Regions from separate parts of the Homo sapiens genome. Here region 1 is linked to region 2. The links are contacts of gene promoters, found by promoter capture Hi-C in blood cells and fetal thymus (Javierre and others, 2016). All regions are on one chromosome and are shown on one strand. The core of a region is centred on a gene start or on the middle of the fragment in contact, and the rest is flanking DNA. Distances in the headings are between cores, read along the strand shown. Region 1 holds the start of B3GNT7 (UDP-GlcNAc:betaGal beta-1,3-N-acetylglucosaminyltransferase 7). Region 2 holds the start of ARMC9 (armadillo repeat containing 9).

The links. The method cuts DNA at HindIII sites, captures the fragments that hold promoters and counts their contacts. A CHiCAGO score of 5 or more calls a contact.
Region 1: the fragment with the promoter of B3GNT7 here is called in contact with the fragment with the promoter of ARMC9 in region 2 in 12 of 17 cell types (endothelial precursors, total B cells, erythroblasts and 9 more); the score reaches 12.0 in endothelial precursors.

What each region holds. Positions count from the first base shown.
Region 1 is chr2:231,393,578-231,397,303 of GRCh38, forward strand. B3GNT7 (UDP-GlcNAc:betaGal beta-1,3-N-acetylglucosaminyltransferase 7) reads left to right here and starts at 2,133. Exons shown (of 2, transcript NM_145236.3): 1 at 2,133-2,237. The coding sequence starts at 2,227. RefSeq lists enhancers at 1-337, 338-919, 1,215-1,264, 3,533-3,726, 3,675-3,726 and a silencer at 1,815-2,284. The HindIII fragment of the contact is 8,411 bases long and covers 1,548-3,726 here.
Region 2 is chr2:231,196,134-231,200,092 of GRCh38, forward strand. It overlaps ARMC9 (armadillo repeat containing 9), which reads left to right and starts at 2,498. Exons shown (of 25, transcript NM_001352754.2): 1 at 2,498-2,565. RefSeq lists a silencer at 2,304-2,643. The HindIII fragment of the contact is 12,461 bases long and covers 1-3,959 here.

The sequences.
Region 1 (3,726 bases), core at 883-3,382, 200 kb after region 2:
CCCACCTCCTCTGGCCCTTGTGCTTCTGGGGCTTTGTGGAGTAGCTGGACATCAATGATAACACTAACAGTAGCCGGCCTGCCACCAAGTTCTTTACATAGGGGATGCCTATGTCTGTGCTTCATTGGCGTCATCTCACAAGGCCCTGAGCTGGCAGGAAATTGAGGTCTCAAGGGGAAAAGCCACCTGCCCCCAGTGACAACCAGGAAGTGCAAGACTCTGACCCAACGCCCATGCCTGCCATCCCCAAACATGGGCTCAAAACCCCCTTCCCAGGGACGGCTGTGTCCACCCCTCAGCAGGAGGAGGAGACCCCACAGCACCGGGTGAGAGGTCAGTGCTGAAGCCAGGGAGGCAGCTCTCAGCAGGGCACCTGTGTGGAGCCAGGGAAGCCAGGGCCACACTTGCAGGGTGAAGTGGGGAACTCGGAAGGCTGGGCAGTGGAGCAAAATGCTTGGTGCCCTGCGGGAACCGGTGGCCAAGGCTACACTGGGATGAAGGGAGCCGTGGAGCTGCAGAATCTGCGGGTGGCCCTCAGTGGCAGGCAGCCAGGCCAACAGGGGCTTTGGGCTGCAGGTCAGCCCCTCCCCTGCTCTGGAACTTTTGGAGGGCCATTACAAAGGACATCAGCCCCAAGATACTCCTCTGAAATTCTGCCTGAAAGGCCCTTCACATTCCCTAATTGGCACTTACAACATTCCAGAACATTCTATGGTACCTTAAGTTTCTCCTCCCCCTCCAAAGGGCCCTTGAACCTTAAGGATAGGGCAGAAGGGGCTCCTCACCCTGGCCTCGAGGGCTTAAGATCCAGCTGAGGACTCCTAGCCTCCCTGTGTGCTGGGCAGGAAAGTAGCTCCATGTCACTGCTGTCCCTGGGAAAGGAAAAAAGGTTGAGGAAGGGCTCAGAGCCAGCCTTCAGACCAGGCAGGAAGGGTTCAGAGCCAGCCTTCAGGCCATGCAGGCCTCCTGGATGTGCTTACTAACTCTGGGCTCGCTGTTCTCTGAGCTGGCTGGGAGTTCCCCTCTGCACCCCCGTTTCCTCCCCTGTAAGGTGGGAATAATAGCGTATGTCTCTAGGATTAAGTGAGCCAGTCATGCATGGGCCGAGAACCAGGTTTGGCATATTGTAGCTGCTCAGTGGACGTTAGCTGTTATGATTGGACCACAACGTGCTTCCGTTTCAATTCTGTGGGCCTTTTGGAGGTCCTGCTGGATGCTAAGCACCGAAACCTCAACCCGGAACAAGACCAGAACAACCTGAGCAACAACAGGACCAGCGATGGCTCTCCCTGCTGGAGGATTCTGGAAGTCACCTGGCTGGACCAAGCCCTCTCCGTGTTCTCTGTCAGCCCACTCCCCAGAGCCGCTAGGCCTGATGTGCACAAGCAGACTAATAAAGGCTTGAGGACAAAAAGGGTTTTGAGTGATAAGTGAAAAAAGAAAGGAGATAGGGCTGGGCCAACAGGCCTTCCCTTGGTGGTGGGGAGCCCTCAGAGGTGGGAGGAACCCCAGAGGTGAAGAGAGGGACATGGTGGGGGCACAAAAAAAGCTTCCAGAGCCACAGGCCTGGGCGAGTCCTGACATGGAGCCCAGTCTCATACGGCCTCTTTCCCTAGTGGCTGGCTTTGCTCCTGGCCCTAGGTAGCCCAACAGCTGGGCAAGGGGTCCGTCTGGTCAGGGGAAAGGTGCAGGGGCAGAAGGTAGCAGAGGGAGAAAAGGACACCCTGTCTGCCTCTGGCCCCAAAGACAAGTCCGAATGGGGCCAGAGGGAAATGGCTGGGCCTTGGGGTGCCCCAGGGTCTTGGAGGGGACCGGGTGTTCAGGTTTCGCACAAGTACAGGAGGGACCGGCGACCGCCCTCCCCCCGCCCCGGGAGGCTCCGCCAGGGACAGGCGTCCCCGGGATTGGAGGTGACCCCCGTGGGTTCCGAAGCCCCGCCTCGGCCATGCACTGTCTACTAGGCGCGCTTGGGGAGCCTAGGGGCCGTCTCGGAGAAATGGGGTGGTCCCCGCCAGGCGGCGGCGGGGCGGGCCCTGGGCGCCGAAGGGGTTAAGGCACCTGGGCCACCGCCCCTGCCGGCCCCTCCTCCCGCGGCCGGGAAGAGGAAAGTCGCGGCGGGGGCGCGGCCCGGTCTCCGTCCCCACCCGCCCGCCGTCCCGCCGGCCCGAGCCGTGGCGCCCAGAGCTGCGAGCCGCTCGCCCCTCCGCCGCTCCGGCCCGGGCCGCCATGTCGCTGTGGTGAGTGGGGCTGGGGGCCGTCGGGGGCCTGGGCGGGGGCGTGGGCCCGGGGCTCCCCCTCCTCCGTGGCCACAGACGGGCGCCGGGACTCCCGGGATAGGAGATGCCCCCGCGCGCGCCGCGCCGGCCTCAGTTTCCCGGGGGCGGATGGGCGGGCGGGCGCGGCGGCGGCGGCGGGAGATGTTCGCGGTACGCGGCCCCGGACCCGTGGGGGACGTCGAGGGGTCTCGGGGCGCCGCGCTCAGCTCCCCGGCCCCGCGGCCCTGGACACCGCTCCAGGACCCTGGCGGCTGGGACCCCAGGTCTTGCCGGCAGCTGGGTCCCCTCTCCCTTCCAGACCCCTGAGGGCCCCCTGCGTCCGGGCCACTCTCCTCCTCTCGGGGCTTCCTTCCGCGGGACCTCGGACCGCCGCCCGCCCGGCCCCTCTCCGCCCCTCCCGGGCTTTCCCTACGAATGGAGCGGACCCGGCAGGTGGAGCGCCCGCAGCCCAGGGCCTCGCCGCCTTCCCGGTGCACCCCCCGACCTCCCCCGTCCCGGCCTCGGTGGGCGGCTTCCCTGGAACCCCTAGGGCTGGCAGGGCCGGATCCGGAGCCCTCCGTTTCCTCCCCGGAGAGCTGGACCTTGGGTCACACCCCCCAGCCTGCACCTAAGGTGCCCCTGTCTTCCTCCAACCACATGCCCCAGCAACCTGGGGACCCTATGGGGAAAATGTCGCTCTATGGGGCTCAGCCTGCATTCACCCTGGGGCCTGGACCTGCAACCGGACCAGCCCTCAGGGCAACCCAGGCGTCTCCACGGGCTGCCTGTCTCTCCTGGCACCCTGCTCCTCCCCCTTGGAGGTCAGCGCCATCTCTCTGCTAGGCTGGCCCTGGAAGGCCACTCTGCTGTCCCCAGAGCTCTCAGCCCCCAGGTCTCCACTGGGGAGGGTGGGGCAGGTGTCCTGGCAGCCCCCGGAGGGTGAGATGAAGAGAGGAGGTCCTTCAGGACAGGGGCTCAGGCCCCAGGGCTTGGGACGACCAGCACTCCTGGCAGAGAGCTCTAATTTCTGCTTCCGAAATGGGTGTGGACCGGGGTTGGGGTGGGGGGGTCTCTGGGCAAGAAGGGTCCCTCAAGGGCTGGAGCTGCAAATGTGCCCCCTCCCAGGGAGTAGAGCTGTAGCCTCATGTCTTCTAATGGGGTGTTATGAGCTGGGGATGTTAAGGTAGGGGTGAGGGGCAGTGCCATGCTAGAGGTGCTCACTGCATCCTTGGGCCTCCATCAACCATGAGGGCTGCTCTTTGTTGGGTGAGACAGACTGGAGAAGGGGGAGGAGGGCCAGTCTTCCTCAGGTCCCAAGCTCGAGCCACTCTCCAATGTGCCCCACATGTGATGGAGCTCCCGGGCGGCACAGAGGATCAGAGGGTGCCCTCTCAATGACTCTGGCTCTGAGTCACCTAATGATACCGATACCTACTGCTGTGGGTAGGTACACCGCAGGGAAATGAAAGGC
Region 2 (3,959 bases), core at 1,248-3,747:
GACAGTTGATTGGAAGGATGCTGGAGGAGCTGTAAGAATAAGTGCAGCTCCAGGGAACTCAGATCCTGGGACCAGGGATTTGATGTCCCCAGCACTTTCTTTGCATTTCTCTAGGTAATGGCTTCATCTTCTCAGTCTTTCCCATGTAGTGAATGCTGTAGGCTGCCCTGGAGTCTCACTTTACAATAACCTGACCACACTTCAACAGCAAAATCCCAGGGAAGGACTATCATTGGCTTTGCTTGGCTCACATGCCCATCCTGGACCCATCACTGAGGCCAGAGGGATGGGGTAAGATTGGTCCAGTTTGGACCATCTGCCCATCCTGTGGTGAGGGATGGGGTATGTTACCAGAAGGGAGAGGGGAGGTAGACAGACAAAGACAATAGCCACCACAATGACCATAATCCCGGCAGTCAGGCAAATGCACTCAGGAGGGAAAGCAAAGCAGGTGGGGTGTTCACGGCAGCTCAGAGCCCAGGGTCCAGAGACACGGAGACCTGGGTTTAGTCCTGGTCTCCTCAGTGGTGTAAACTTTGAGGAGTTTCTTAATCCCGTATGCCTCATGTTGTTCATCTTGCCAAAGACAAAACAGACAGCTCTAATCTCAGCTAATCAACCATGAGACAAAGAATGAGAAGCTGAAAAGTCTGTCCTTGGCCTTGCCGGCAGACTCAGGCAGAAGGGAAAAGGTCTGCATTTGTCCTTGTCACAGGTAAACAAGGGGGTCATCCGTGCATCATATGGGAGGCATGAGAAAGACAGGACTGTGGGTCTGATGAAGTCATATGTGGAAGGGTAGTTCTTTCTGATAAGCTACTTCCCAGAACACAAAAGTGTGGAGGATTTTAGAAAACAAAAGGTTTGGGGGTGCGTGGGTGAGATTTCTTAACTGTGGCTGTTTTCTAAGAGCACACAGCTCAGGTTAATTACAACATTGTCAATCAGTAAAATGCTGAAAATATTATTCATCTCATAGATGTGGTGTGAGAATTAAAAACTTTTTTTTTTTTGAGACAGAGTCTCACTCTGTTGCCCAGGCTGGAGTACAGTGGCGTGATCTCGGCTCACTGAAACCTCCATCTTCCGGGTTCAAGGATTCTCCTGCCTCAGCTTCCCGAGTGGCTGGGACTACAGGCACATGCCAATACGCCCAGCTAATTTTTGTATTTTTAGTAGAGACAGGTTTCACCATGTTGGCCAGGCTGGTCTGAAACTTGTGACCTTAGGTGATCCATCTGCCTTGGCCTCCCAAGTGCTGGGATTACAGGTGTGAGCCACCGTGCCGGGCCTGGTGTGAGAACTAAAGAAAACAATCTATATGATTCACTTAGCACAATGCTGGGCACACATATAGGCTGCACGTTTTGCAAACAAAAATACAGAACAATATAACATCCTACATGCACAATAAAATGAAGCAGTTTTTGGGATTTACTTACACTAAAACATTATCTAAAATTTACATTTAACTGTGTGTTCTATATTTTGTCTGGCATCTCCCGGCATACAGTTGTGTTGACGATAAATATTATGGCCATGGATTGAAGATTTATTTTCAATCCATATTACCTGGACAGAAGATAGGGCTCTCTTCTACTAAATACAGCTTTTTTTCTTTTGGAAGACAATCCACTGGCAGGGTTGGGGACTGGGGAAGTGGTGGCCACAGCCCATCTTAGGGCTTCTTCAAAGGCGAGCTGACCTACCTTCTCCGTGCCCCATTCCCTGTCTCTGGCCCTGGTAGCCTCCTCCTTCTTGGAAGCATGGAGGTGGAAACACTGAGGTGGCAACGAGAGACTCCCACGGAATCTCAACGCCTGGAGGGGAGGGATTTTCTATCCATGGCCATCTCTTCACCCTCCAGCACAAAGTTGGGTGACTAGCAAGTGCTCATTCAGTGCTGATGAACTTCAGTTCAAAAGCATCAGGTGCAAAGAGAGGGAAGACGTGTGCTCCTGATTTATTTTTAATAGCCCACATTTGACATGGAAAACAAAAAGTTTCTCTGAAATCCTTGGAAACCGCTGCAGTGGGGCGGGACCCTGGTCCCCGGAGCTTTAATGCACATCTTGGGCGTCACTTTTGGTTCTAAGGTGGCCCCAGGTCCCTCCTTTAAGATGGGAATAACCATGCCTGACTCTTTCCCCACGGACACCACACTGTCCTAGTTTGTGTTCTCTACGCGACCACGAGCTCCTTGAGACAAGGGGTTGAGCCTGCTCCGGCTCATCCCGAGAGCCGGCGCAGCGACTGGCGCAACGAAAGGGAAATGAACGAATGAATGAACGAACGAAAGTGGAGTGGTGGAGAGGACCACAGAAGACGCGGTCATCCAGCGCGTGAACCTTCACCACTGCTGGGCTGTGGACCCTCACTTCCGCCGCCAGGAAGTTTCGGGGTCGCCCACCTTCCCTCCCAGGCTGCTCCGCGTCGGCGGCGCCCCGCGCGATTGGCTGCGCCGCCCCCACGTGACGCCGGGGTGGCGGCGGCGGTTGCCCGGGTGACGGCTGCGGAGGTGGCGGCCGGGCTGGGATAGCGCGAGTGTCCGCGGCCGAGCAGCAGGTAAGCGCGTCCCCGGATGCAGCCGGGCCACCCTCCGCCCGCCGTCCTGGTGCTGGGAGGAGCAGCGGTGCGTTTGGAGGGCCGAGGCTCTGCGGACCTCTTGTTCCGAGGAAAAACCCGACGCGCCCGCTCCGCCGCCGCCGGATGCTACCACTTCTCGCCTGCGGTCCAGGGATCTTTCTTCGGCAAGGGCCGAGGCGGCCGCCTGGACATCCCAAGAAAGGACAGGCCCAGCTGCTTCCCGCAAGTAGTCCCTGATCTTTGCTGCAGTGGGCCATACTTGGAGGGGGTCCCTCAAGCCATCCAGCTGGTGGTGGCGGCGCGAGCGGGTTATCCGGGATTTAGATCCCCCTGATAATCTCCATCTGCTAGCCGCGTTCCTGAGGCACCCAGTTGAAGTCCAGACTTCACCTAATCTTAGGAAAAACAGGATGCGTGCTATGCAGATTCGGCTTCCATACAAATCCCATAATCCCACCCGTTTGTGGGCCCTAAATCTTTCTTATATAGGAATTCAAAAGCTGCCGCTGCAATCCCCAAATGTAACTGGAAAAGTTTTTCTTAGTTTCCGCATAAAGGAGAGCACTGGTTCTCAAACTTGAGAGTGTGTAAAAGTCACTCAGGGAGCTTGTTTAAAAGGCAGATTTCTGGGCATGGTGCCTGCCACGGTGTTCAGTAAGACCAGGGTGGAGGCAGGAATTTTCATTTGCACAAGCGTGCCAGCTGATTCTGATTTAGGTGGTCCAGACTTTGGGAAATACTGTGTAGTGGTTCTTTTCAGCCGCTTAGTCACTTACTGTGGCTGTTGGGAGTGTGTCAGACTTCCTGGGCCTCAAATTGCCTCATCTGGAATGGGAAAATATAAACTATATTCACCTGTCAGGTTTACTATGAAGGTTAAATGTAAAACATTTTGCACATTGCCTGGCATACCATATACCTTCAATAAATGATACCTATTATGATATAAAAGTTTAGAGAAAATTCTGTAATTTCTTTTTCTTTTCCTTTTTTTGAGACGGAGTCTTTCCCTGTCGCTCAGGCTGGAGTGGAGTGGCATGATCTCGGCTCACTGCAACCTCCACCTCCTGGGTTCAAGCGATTCTCTTGCCTCAGCCTCCCTGGTAGCTGGGATTACAGGTGCAGACGCCACCACGCCCGGCTAATTTTTGTATTTTTAGTAGAGATGGGGTTCCACCATGTTGATCAGGCTGGTCTCGAACTCCTGACCTCAGGTGATCCGCCTGCCTCAGCCTCCCAAAGTGTTGGGATTACAGGTGTGAGCCACTGTGCCTGGCCAATTCTGTAATTTCTAAGAATGTTGAGTAATAGGATACCCAGCAGCACTCACATTCAATGACAGTTGATCACAGCAGATACTATTTAAACGGCTT